Regions from separate parts of the Homo sapiens genome. Here region 1 is linked to region 2. Evidence: promoter capture Hi-C in human tissues and cell types (Jung and others, 2019). All regions are on one chromosome and are shown on one strand. Each heading gives the region's core, a stretch centred on a gene start or on the middle of the fragment in contact. The rest is flanking DNA. Distances are from core to core; before and after follow the strand shown.

Evidence for each region. Contacts are between HindIII fragments. The study calls those that stand out against the background at their distance.
Region 1: a fragment that was not itself captured here is called in contact with the fragment with the promoter of IP6K1 in region 2 in 3 of the 25 tissues and cell types used here (liver, lymphoblastoid cells and mesenchymal stem cells).

Annotation. Positions count from the first base shown.
Region 1 is chr3:49,741,822-49,747,991 of GRCh38, forward strand. IP6K1 (inositol hexakisphosphate kinase 1) reads right to left here. Exons shown (of 6, transcript NM_153273.4): 2 at 5,997-6,170. Among named protein-coding and RNA genes, the nearest start is that of GMPPB, 21 kb to the left of the region's middle. The HindIII fragment of the contact is 3,402 bases long and covers 2,031-5,432 here.
Region 2 is chr3:49,785,031-49,791,322 of GRCh38, forward strand. IP6K1 (inositol hexakisphosphate kinase 1) reads right to left here and starts at 1,512. Exons shown (of 6, transcript NM_153273.4): 1 at 1,324-1,512. CDHR4 (cadherin related family member 4) reads right to left here. Exons shown (of 19, transcript NM_001007540.4): 19 at 5,702-5,857. The coding sequence ends at 5,802. RefSeq lists silencers at 1,126-1,475, 2,211-2,375, 3,156-3,365 and enhancers at 1,190-1,879, 1,966-2,035. The HindIII fragment of the contact is 27,523 bases long and covers 1-6,292 here.

The DNA.
Region 1 (6,170 bases), core at 2,482-4,981, 41 kb before region 2:
ATAGGTGTTCTCTAAATTACAACCATCAGAACTGGGACAAGACAATTTAGAACTTCAAGGTGCCTCCCAGGGAAGGGTTGGCAGTCTCTAGCACTGGTTCAGTATTTCCTCACACCTTCCTCCTCTCAAACTGAGTAACAGGTATCTTTAAAGGCCATAATATGAGAGGATTGCTTGAGGTCAGGAGTTTGAGTCTGCAGTGAGCCATGACTGTACCACTGCACTCCAGCCTGGGCGACACAGCAAGACCCTGTCTCAAAATAAAAATAAAAAAATAAAAGCCACAGTAAATTCTTAGGATCTACTTTATTTTCTTTGCTTAGGCTACATTTTCACTAGGAAAGAATAAATATGCTAGCTCAAAAGTACAATTCAATTAAACTAAAATTAATCCCTTCTTTCTAAGTCAAATGAAGCCCAATTTAGTCAAAGAAAATAGAAGCATAGGCTGGGCACGGTGGCTTACGCCTGTAATCCCAGCACTTTGGGAGGCTGAGGGGGGCGGATCACGAGGTCAGGAGATTGAGACCATCCTGGCTAACACGGTGAAACCCTGTCTCTACTAAAAATACAAAAAATTAGCCGGGCGTGGTGGTACACGCCTGTAGTCCCAACTACTCGGGAGGCTGAGGCAGGAGAATGGCGTGAGCCCGGGAGGCAGAGCTTGCAGTGAGCCAAGATCGCGCCACTGCACTCCAGCCTGGGCAACAGAGTGAGACTCCATCTCAAAAAAGAAAAAGAAAAAAAAATAGAAGCATAGTGGAAGATATTATTAGTCAAATTAATCTATTTCAGGGCCAGGCATGGTGGCTCACATCTGTAATCCCAGCACATTGGGAGGCCAAGGCAGGCAGATCACTTAAGCTTAGAAGTTTGAGACCCGCCTGGGCAACATGGTGAGACCCTGTCTCTACAAAATACAAAAAAAAAGAGCCGGTGCACACCTGTGGTCCCAGCTACTCCAGAGGCTGAGGTGGGAGAATCACTTGAGCCCAGGAGGTCAAGGCTGTGGTGAGTTGAGATCGTGCCACTGCATTCCAGTCTGGGCAACAGAGTGAGACCCTGTCTCAAAATAGTATATAAATAAATAAATTGGACTAAAATTTTATATTAAAAAAACACACAGTCCAGCCACGGTGGCTCATACCTGTATCCAGGCACTTTGGGAGGCCAAGGCAAGTGGGTCACTTAAGGTCAGGAGTTCGAGACCAACCTGACCAACATGGTGAAACCCCATCTCTACTAAAAATACAAAAATTAGCCAGGAATGGTGGCAGGCACCTGTAAGTCCCAGCTACTCAGGAGGCTGAGGTCCTTGAACCCAGGAGGTAGAGGTTGCAGTGAGCCAAGTTCATACCACTGCACTCTAGCCTAGGCAATGAAGCAAGACCCTATCTCAAAACAAAAACAAAAACAAAATACACACACACACACACACACACACACACACACACACACACTTACCTTTCAGCTGGGAGCAGTGGCTCACACCTGTGATCCCAGCTACTTGGGAGGCTGAGGTATCATGCCTCATGGAGGAGGATCACTTGAGACCAGGAGTTCAAGACTAGCCCAGGCAACATAGTGAGGTCCGATCTCTTAAATCTCAGCACTATGAGAGGCCAAGGTGGGAGGATTCCTTGAGGCTAGGAGTTCAAAACTAGCCTGGGTAACAGAGCAAGACCCTGTCTCTACAAAAAACTTTAAAAATTACCTAGTTGTAGTGGCGTGCCTATAGTCCCAGCTACTCGGGGGGCTGAGGTGGGAGGATCACTTGAGCCATAGTTTTTTTTTTTTGTTTTTTTTTTTTTTTTGAGACAAGAGTTTCACTCTTGTTGCCCAGGCTGGAATGCAATGGCGTGGTCTCTGCTCACTGCAACCTCTGCCTCCCGGGTTCAAGTGATTCTTCTGCCTCAGCCTCCCAAGTAACTGGGATTATAGGCACCTGCCAGCACACCCAACTAAGTTTTGTATTTTTAGTAGAGACAGGGTTTCACCATGTTGGCGAGGCTGGTCTCGAACTCCTGACCTCAGGTGATCCGCCTGCCTCGGCCTCCCAAAGTGCTAGGATTATAGGCATGAGCCACCATGCCCGGCGGAGCCATGGTTTCGAGGCTGCAGTGAGGTATGATTGCACCACTGCACAATGCGCCACAATTATTACTGTGTTGTAATGTCTAATGGTGTGTGTAATGCCTAATGGTGTGTGCTGAATGGTATTACTGTGTTGTCTGCCTAATGGTGACTTCTATTCCCATCATTCCTTCTATATTTATTAATCAAAATAAATCAGAATTCTGGCCGGGCACGGTGGCTCACTCCTGTAATCCCAGCACTTTGGGAGGCCGAGGCAGGTGGATCACAAGGTCAGGAGATTGAGACCATCCTGGCTAACATGGTGAAACCCTGTCTCTACTAAAAATACAAAAGATTAGCCAGGCTTGGTGGCGGGAGCCTGTAGTCCCAGCTACTCGGGAGGCTGAGGCAGAAGAATGGCGTGAACCCGGGGGGCAGAGCTTGCAGTGAGGCGAGACTGCGCCACTGCACTCCAACCTGGACAACAGAGCGAGACTCCGTCTCAAAAAAAAAAAAAAAAAAAAAAAAAAAGAAATTAGAATTCTATAAGGAAGAGTTGTCCCTTCATATCCATGTATTTATCAGTATAGACTTGTGGATATTTTGTCATTTAAATTCTTCTAGATTGGGCCCTTCAATTCCTTTAAAGTTAGCTCTTCGTACTTCTGACATGATTTTTGACCACTTCTTTACTATCTGTCACCATAAGATGTTCTAGGCTTGTCTTATAATTTTCCTGCCCGAACTCAGGAACCAACCATTTCACCAAGGAGCTCTGTTTCTTTTTATTGTAAGAATGGTATTTAGAAAACTCAGGATTTGGTTACTAGATATACTGATTGCTACTGAAGTATCACTGCTTTTAGGCCCTTTCAGCACATGGAGCTAAGAAATACATGTATGATTACTAGCCCACACACATACACACATCTAATTGCTGCTATCAGCACAGGTGTTTAAGCTCAATTAAGCTAAGAAAAAGTGTCAATAATATTTCATATCTTGGCAGGTTTAAAAACAAATTTTCATTTATTTAGTATGACCAGCTACAATCATCAACTGTTAGTGCTTGCAGTACTAAATGTGAAGTTCAAGGCTTCTGTACATTTATGCAAATAAGCTTTGCCTCATTCATTTATCAAGTATTTACTGACCATCTACTAGATGCCAGGCCCTGAACTCATAAGTGTAAAAGACAAAAAAAAAAGTCCATACCTTCAAGGAGCTTCCATACTAATGTGAAAAACAAACACATAGACAAAAATACAGATTGTGATAAGTGCTATGAAGAAACTAAGTAAGGTTCTATCACTGAAAATATGGTTTCCAGAGCAGAATATAATATAGGATGATCAGGGAAGAAGTGTCTGGGGAGACCTAATAAACTAAAGGTTGGAGGAGCAGGTGTGGATAAGGGTACTGGAAAGAACATTCCAAGCATAAGTAAAATCCCTGAGGTTAATTAAAATAAAAATGAAATTTAAAAAGCTTGAGATGTCCTAAAAACTGGTTCACCTCTTTCTGCCAATTAAGAAACAACCCAGGCCAGTCATGGTGGCTCACACCTATAATCCCAACACTTTGGGAGGCCAAGGCAGGTAGGTCACCTGAGTTGAGTTTGAGACCAGCCTGGCCAATATGGCAAAACCCCGTCTCTACTAAAAATACAAAAATTAGCCAGGCATGGTGGCACATGACTGTAATCCCAGCATTTTGGGAGGCCAAGGCAGGCAAATCACCTAAAGTCAGGAGTTCGAAAGCAGCTTGCCCAACATGGTGAAACCCCATCTCTACTAAAAATACAAAATTTAGTTAGGCGTGGTGGCACATGCCTGTAATCCCAGCTACTTGGGAGGCTGAGGCAGAAGAATCGCTTGAACACGGAGGTGGAGATTGCAGTGAGCCGAGATCGTGCCACTGCACTCCAGCCTGGGCGACAGAGCAAGACTCTGTCTCAAAAAAAAAAAAAAAAAAAGACAGAAACAACCCAATTCAAAATGGTCAAAGGACTTGAATAGACATTTCTTTAAGAAGGTATACCAACAGACAATAACAAAAAAATCCTCTGCATCATTCGTTAGACATTAGGAAAAAGCAAGTCAAAGCCACAGATACCACACACATCCACTAGGATGGCTACAAAAAGAAAAGAAAAGGAGTGTTGGTAAGGATGTGGAGAAATAGGGACCCTTGTACATTGCTGGTAAGAAGGCAAAGTGGTGCAGCCACTGTGGGAAACAGTTTGGCAGTTCCTCCGAAAGGTAAACAAAGAACTTCCACATGATCTGACAATTCCACCCCTAGGCATATACCCAAAAGAATTAAAAGCAGTGACTCATATGGACATTTGTAAGACAATGTTCACAGCAGCATTATTCGCAATAGCCAAAAGGTGGAAACAACCCAGGTGTCCATCAACAGATGAATGAATAAACAAAATGTGGTATACACTTACAATTAAATATTATTCAGCCATAAAAAAGAATGAAGTGGGCCAGGCACGGTGGCTCACGCTTGTAATCCTAGCACTTTGGGAGGCCGAGGCAGGCGGATCACAAGGTCAGGAGATCAAGGCCATCCTGGCCAACATGGTGAAACCCTGTCTCTACTAAAAATACAAAAAATAGCTGGGCGTGGTGGCACATGTCTGTAATCCCAGCTACTTGGGAGGCTGAGGCAGGAGAATCGCTTCGCTTGAACCCGGGAGTTGGAGGTTGCAGTAAACCAAGATCGCGCCACTGCACTCTAGCCTGGCAACAGAGAGAAACTCTCAAAAAAAAAAAAAAAGTGCTAGGATTACAGATGTGAGCCACTGTGCCCGGCCAAGAATGGAGTTTTAATACACACTATGACATGAACGAACCTTGTAAACATTAAGCTAAATGAACCAAGCCAGACACAAAAGGTCAAAAATTGTAATGATTTCACTTTTATGAAATATCTACAATAGGCAAATCTGTAGAGACAGAAAGTAAACAAGAGGTTACCAGGGGATCAGATGATGGAAGAATGGGGAGTTATTATTTAATAGGTACCGAGTTTGTTTCAGATGATGAAAAATTCAGGAAATGGACAGTGGCTATACAACATTGTGAATGTGTTAATGCCACTAAATTATACACTTTAAAATGGTGAATGTTATGTTATGTACATTTTACCAAAATTTTTTTTAAAAAGTTAAGGAAACAAAAAGTCAATTCTATAGCACTGGTTTTTCTAAATTGAAACTCTCCTAAGTAAAGGACAGTGTTAACCTGACTGAAATCATACAACTTAAAGTTATAAAGCAGAATGTAAAAAAAAAACTTAGACACAATGAGCAATCATAAAAATTTATAAACACTGACAAAGATCAGATTTTAAAATAAAGTTAGTTAATTCTGGTATAATTAATATTCATGAGGTTCTTTTCTATAAAGTTGACTTATATTTTAAAATAAATTATTTTTCCTTCAAATATCAGGACTTCCAGGCCCCAGAAAGTCCCTGCATTTCTTACCAACAATTCTTTGCCCCAGCACATATAGACACAGGATACACACAGCACCACTGCCAGCTATCTAACCGCTTTAACCTGGAAGTATCCATTCCGCCTCCGGGACGAGAGAAATGTTCCCTCTTCTCTCCCAGACTAGTGTCACAGCAAATGGGAAAATTCACTGACAACAGCATGCTCTTTTCCACCAATGGAACTTAATGCTATGACTTTTTCTCAGCTTTACCTATTAATAAATTCAATTTTCAAGATCTAAAGACCTTGCTGATGCTTTCAGCCTCTAATTTTATCTAACAAAGTGACTTCGTGCTTTGAGAAAAAAGACCTACAATGATATATCATGGCAAACAAACCAAGAAAAAACTGTGGCAAGGGGTCTATAAGCCCAAGGCTGCTGCTTTCATTAAACTGGCCAGTGACTGACCTTTGTATTCAGGGGTGAACTCCTTCATTTCGGGAGGGAGGGACTCGTAAAAGCGCTGTTCCCGGGAGATGAGGGGCTTGCACACAGTGTGATCGTCGTAACGCATCATGCTGCTGTGTCCGCCTACTTGGTGGATGAAGGGCTCCAGGAGGACTCCCCGGTCTCCAGCCCGAC
Region 2 (6,292 bases), core at 262-2,761:
TGACCACATACAAGAAGACTGTACAAAGAACCAAAGAGGCCACAGGTCAAGAGAAATGTGTTTTGGAGCAATGAGAACTCTTCCTAGACCTGCACACTCTACTGAGGATCTCCAACTTGCCCAAATTCACAGGAAAGGGGCTTGAAGGTGTTTTCACTGAGCAAGATAATTTTAGTACTGTTAAAAGTTAATTTGCGCCGGGCATAGTGGCTCACACTTGTAACCCCAGCACTTTGGGAGGCCAAGGGGGGTGGATCACGAGGTCAGGAGTTCGAGACCAGCCTGGCCAACATGGTGAAACCCCGTCTCTATTAAAAATACAAAAATTAGCCGGGCATGGTGGCGCGTGTCTGTAGTCCTACCTACTCGGGAGGCTGAGGCAGGATAATCGCTTGAACCCGGGAGGTGGAGGCTGTGGTGAGCCGAGATCGCGCCACTGCACTCCGGCCTGGGCAACAGAGCGAGAGACTCTGTCTCAAAAGAAAAAAAAGAAAAAAAACAGTTAATTTGCCAGTTCCATATCATCCACAACAAAAACAAGTTTCTTTTTCCGATTCTAAGACACTCCTACGTTTCCTTTGTCTCCTATGGCGAGCATCCCTTTAGGAGATAAAATCAAGTCATCACCATAATACTCACTTTCTCCTAAAGCAAAAAGAGGAAGACATTACCACTCTCCAAAAAGTGGTGGTGAAGAACCAAAGAAATTATGTTCCAAAATAAAACTCAGCCATTATGGACATTTAACCAGGTTCTTTGCGAGGAAAACGGTGAGCTTCGAGGTACACGTGAGGTTCCGAACGGGTCTCAGGAAGCAGCAGCCAGGCAGAGGGTCCCCCTTGCCATAATCATAGGGCCGTGACACCGGCCTGCCTGGCTCGCGGGGGCTTTGGCTTGCTTCGTCTAGTCTTAGCATCCAGCGTCCTGAAAATCACTCGCAGGAACGCTATCTAAGAAAGAGGTAAGTCTATTTCTCAGCCAGGAGCAACATAACTCCCAGGAGAGCATCAGGGTGGCACCGGACACACTTTAGCGCTCCGGATCAGCGGAGTCCAGAGCTTCGGTCAGAGAAGCTGGTTTCCCGCTACTAGCCGGCCAACCCTCAGGCACTGGCGCTCTCCGTCCTCCACACCGGCTGTCCCCCCGGCTTCGGTGCCAGCATCTGGGAGGCTCGGCGGGCGGCCGGTCAGGACGCTCGAGCGATGTTCCAGTGATGGCCCCACCGGAGCCCCGACCCCACACGCGCCCACTCCAACCCCGCGCCCGCCACCGCCCTCCCCGCGGGCGTCAGGCCGGTCTATCGGCCCGGCTCCTGTCACTCACCTGCCCGGCCCGGGCACCGAGCGCCCACGGCTCCCTACGGGAGCTGGGCCCCCCGGGCCTCCAGGTTTCGGCCCGCCCCCTGGCAGGCAGCACAGGTGGCTGAGCACCGCTACAGCGGCCTCTCACCGGCCGCTTGGTCCAGCTCCCGGCGCTGCCCACTGGGTACGGATCAACAACAAGATGGCGGCTAGCCGAGGGGGCGGGGGCCGGGCGTCATAGTAACCAGGACTGCAAAGAACCCGCCCCCGAGGGGGTGCTATCCCCAATCAACAGTCTTTTTGCTCGTCGCCAGGGGAAGTGCTTCCTGCTGACAGGTCAGCTCACGTGTCAGTCAGAGTCTGCCTCTCAGGGCCTCTGCCGAAAGCGTGGGGCACGTGACTGTGACGGCATGGGTTGGCGCATGCGCTTCGTTCCCGGAGTGGCTGGCGGCGGAGTTTTCGCTGGCTACTACGAGGCCGGAGCGCCCTTGGCCTCTCTGCGTCCCTGGCCCTCGTGCGGTACCGGCGGCGTCTTGTCATACACTTGCGCACACACAGGGAATCTCAGCGGTGTGCTATTCGTTTTTTTGTCCCCCACTCTGGGAGAAGGGGGGTGCAGCCCCCAGTTCACTCTGGAGAGGAAACTGAGGCTCAGAGAGGGGAGGCCGAGCCAAGGTCACGCCACCTCTAGAAATGGAGGTGCTGGGTCTCGCACCTCCTCCTGCTGGTTTCAGAGTGTGAGGAGCCTCTATCCCAGCTTCCCACGCTTTGTCCCTTACTAGCCTCGAGGTACCGCAGTCTGTGCTGCCACAGCAGCCTCTGGCTCATTGCCCATGCTTTCCTGCCTGAGGTTTAGAGCCTAGCACAAGTCCTGACACACAGCGGGCACTCCCTTTTCTCTTCCCTAGAGCATCTTGTCTTGAGATCCTGTGACAGCATCTTTTGCCCTGGACTGTCATGACCGGCCTCCCAAGCAGACTAATGGTCCCAGGAAGATGGTCACACCTTGCTCCCCATACAGAACACCTAACTCTGGGCTTGGCTTCAGGCTTAGAACAACAGATGAAGTTACGTGGCCTGGGCCCACACCCAAATGCCCCAACTAGCTAACTCTGACTTTTGAGCCTTAGCCTCTCTTTAGCTTTGGTTGTCCCATCTGTAAAATGAAGATAAAAGTGGAGCTTCTCAGAGGAAGATTTAATGAGCCCTCAGAGCAGGGGAAGAACTCAGGAAAAATCTGCCTACAACCACTTCCTGGAACAACCTGCTTCCAAGTTGCTGTTCCTGAGGCGTGCCTTAAAACACTAACTTTGGTGGAAGCCCCATGAAGCGTTTTTGTTTTGCTTTGTTTTGTTCCCACAGAAGGCTTTCAGCTTCTTCCTGGCCCTGGGATACCATAACTGGTTCAGAAGGGGAGGTCCTCCTAGCTAGGCGCAGTGGCTCATGCCTGTAATCCAGCACTTTGGGAGGCCAAAGAAGGTGGATCACTTGAGGTCAGAGGTTCGAGACCAGCCTGGCCAAAATGGTGAAACCCTGTCCCTACTAAAAATACAAAAATTAGCTGGACGTGATGGCAGGTGCCTGTAATCCCAGCTACTCAGGAGGTTGAGGCAGGAGGATCACTTGAACCTGGGAGGCAGAGGTTCAGTGAGCTGAGATCACGCCACCACACTCTAGCCTGGGTGACAGAGCAAAATTCTGTCTCAAAAAAAAAAAAGGGAGGTTCTCCAGTACCCTGAGGGGGTTCAGGCCCACAGACTCAACAGACGAGTAAAGACTGTGATAACTTGGATTTACCACAGTAAGGTCCTCTTGGAGAGCTGGCAGAAGCCTGAGACCTGATGTCAGGTTGGGCATGGAGAGTGGGCCAACACTGCATCCAGCAAGACCTGCCCACCAGCAGATTGCTGCAGGCCACTTGGCTACATGCAATAGCTCAGGTCAACACAGGGAGATGTGAGAGCAGAGGAACCAGAAGAAACAGATCAGGAAGAAAAGCCAACAACCCTCAAAAGGGGGATTCTGCTAATCCTCCAGGACCAGCCATGCCACAGGATTCTCAAGTCTGCATCACCCCTCACCGCAGTGCAAAAGCTCCAGATCCTTCCCAAGAAAACCTCCACATACAGTTGGCAAATTGCCCTGAAGTTTGATGGGACCCTCAAAAAGCAACAGTGGTATAACTACTGTGGATAACAGTTCGGAGGTTCCTCAGAAAACTAAAAATACAGCTACCACATGATCCAGCAATCCCACTGCTGGGTATGTACCCAAAGGAAAGGAAATCAGTATATCAAAAAGATATCTGCACTTCCATGTTTGCTGCAGTGCCATTCACAATAGCCAAGATTTGGAAGCAACCTAAGTGTCCATCAACAGGTGAATGGATAAAGAAAATATGGTACATATGGGCCGGGTGCGGTGGCTCACGCCTGTAATCCCAGCACTTTGGGAGGCCGAGGCGGGCGGATCATGAGGTCAGGAGATGGAGACCATCCTGGCTAACACGGTGAAACCCCATCTCTACTAAAAATACAAAAAATTAGCCGGGCGTGGTGGCAAGCGCCTGTAGTCCCAGCTACTCAGGAGGCTGAGGCAGGAGAATGGCGTGAACCCAGAAGGCGGAACTTGCAGTGAGCCGAGATCACGCCACTGTGCTCCAGCCTGGGCAACAGAGCGAGACTCCATCTCAAAAAAAAAAAAAAGAAAAGAAAATATGGTACATATGCAGAATGGAATATTATTCAGCCATTAAAAAGAATGAGATTGTGAGATTGGCTGGTGCGGAGGCTCATGCCTGTAATCCCAGCACTTTGGGAGGCTGAGGCAGGAGGATCACCTGAGGTCAGGAGTTCAAGACCAGCCTGGCCAACATAGGAAAACTCCATCTCTACTAAAAATAAAAAATAAAAAAATTAGCCGGCATGGTGGTGCACACCTGTGGTCCCAGCTACTCAGGAGACTGAGGCACGAGAATTGCTTGATCATGAGAGGCGGAGGTTGCAGTGAGCCAAGATCGTGCCACTGTACTCCAGCCTGGGTGACAAAGTAAGACTACATCTCAAAAAAAAAAAAAAGGAAAAAGATTTAAACAAAACAATTGAATTCATGGAGATAGTGAGTAGAAGGATAGTTACCAGAGTCTGGAAGGGGTGGGGAGGTGGGACGGTTAATGGGTACCAAAAAAAAAGAAAAATGAATAAGACCTAGTGTTTGATAGCACAACAGAGTGACTGTAGTCAATAATAACTTAATTGTACAGTTTAAAATAACTGAAAGAGTATAATTGGATTATTTGTAACACAAAGGATAAATGCTTTAGGGGATGGATGCCCCATTTTCGATGAGGTGATTATTAACCATTACATGCCTTATTAAAACATCTCATGTACCTCCAAATTTATACACCTATGTACCCACAAAAATTAAAAATTAAGAAAAAAATTAAAAAGAGAAACATCTCAACAACAACAACAACAAAAGCAACAGTGAGCTAGGCACGGTGGCTCACACCTATAATCCCAGCACTTTGGGAGGCTGAAGGGGGAGGATGGCTTGGACCCAGGAATTCAAGACCAGCCTGGTCAACATAGAGAGATCCCATCTCTACAAAAAAATTAAAAATTAGCCAGGCATGGTGGTCCATGCCTGTAGTCCCACCTACTTGGGATTCTGAGTAGGAGGATCGATTGAGCCTGGGAGGTCAAGGCTACAGTGAGCCACAATCACACCGTTGCACTCCAGCCTGGGCAACAAAGCCAGACAGCCAGACCCTATCTTTCTCTCTCTCTCTCTCTCTCTCTCTCTCTCTCTCTCTCTCTCTCTCTCTCTCTCTCTCCCCCTCTCTCCCTCTCCCCGCCCCCTCTCTCCTTCACACACATGCGCGCGCGCGCGCGCACACACACACACACACACACACACACACACACACACGCAGCATTGTTCTCTCTCTTCTGGATAGGAAAAGGAAGCAGGTGGCCCTGAGGAGACATGCTGATTGGAGGCCCCTCAGTCACTGACAAGGATGATAGCCTATTACTTCTATAGAGCATCAGTCACACTGTCAGTCTGAGCATCACACAATACCTTCTTAAAAGAAAAATAAAGCCAGGTGCAGTGGTGCGCCCATCGTCCCAGCTACCCAGGAGGCTGAGATGAGAGGCTCTCTTGAAGCCAGGAGTTAGACGCTATAGTGTGCTATGATAACACCTATGAATAGCCTCTGCATTCCAACCTGGGCACCATAGTGAGACCCTGTCTAAAAAAAAAAAACCCTGAAAGAGAAAAGGAAAACCTTACTGCTCCCTAGAGTCTGCTCACAAGGTAGGGAGTTGTCCAAGTGAGAACAAGGAGGCACAGATTTCAGAGCTTCTCCCACACGTTGGCTACAAGGCTAGAACTTTTCTTTTTGTAATTTTGTTTATTATGAATCAACTTGAAAATACAGCCCATGATGGTGTGAAAAAGAAATTCCACACATAGTAAGACAGCTACTTGGCCTCAGAGCCAGCGCCGGGCTCCTGTGTGTGTGTTAAACAGGTAGTCTCTTCCGGTACCTAAAACCGGTAGGAGAGAGAGGAGAGCAGGGGGTGCTGCTGGCCCCAGAAGAACTGCCTCCCTCCCCCTTACTTAAGGGTAGGAGATTATTCCTCCAGGACCCTCAGTGTGACATCCCACCTTCGCTGGAATCTAACCTGTCCCCTCCCTCCCTTCTCAGCAAATTCTCTCAACTCTGACTCAAATGCACAGGAAGCCTCCTTGATTCTCCAACACTGGACACCAGCTTCCCTAAGGCAATACCAGATTACTCTCCCATAAATCACTGGTGACATTGGACTATCTGGAGGCCTCTCCCCTCACCATCATCCCTCCTCCCGTTGTGGGCAGAGACCAGACCAGATATGAGTCATCTCCTGACCCCCTAGACGTTTGACAAAGGATGGATGAAGAGTGAGCGGGGATGAGAGCAGACCCCATTCAGGAAAAAAGCA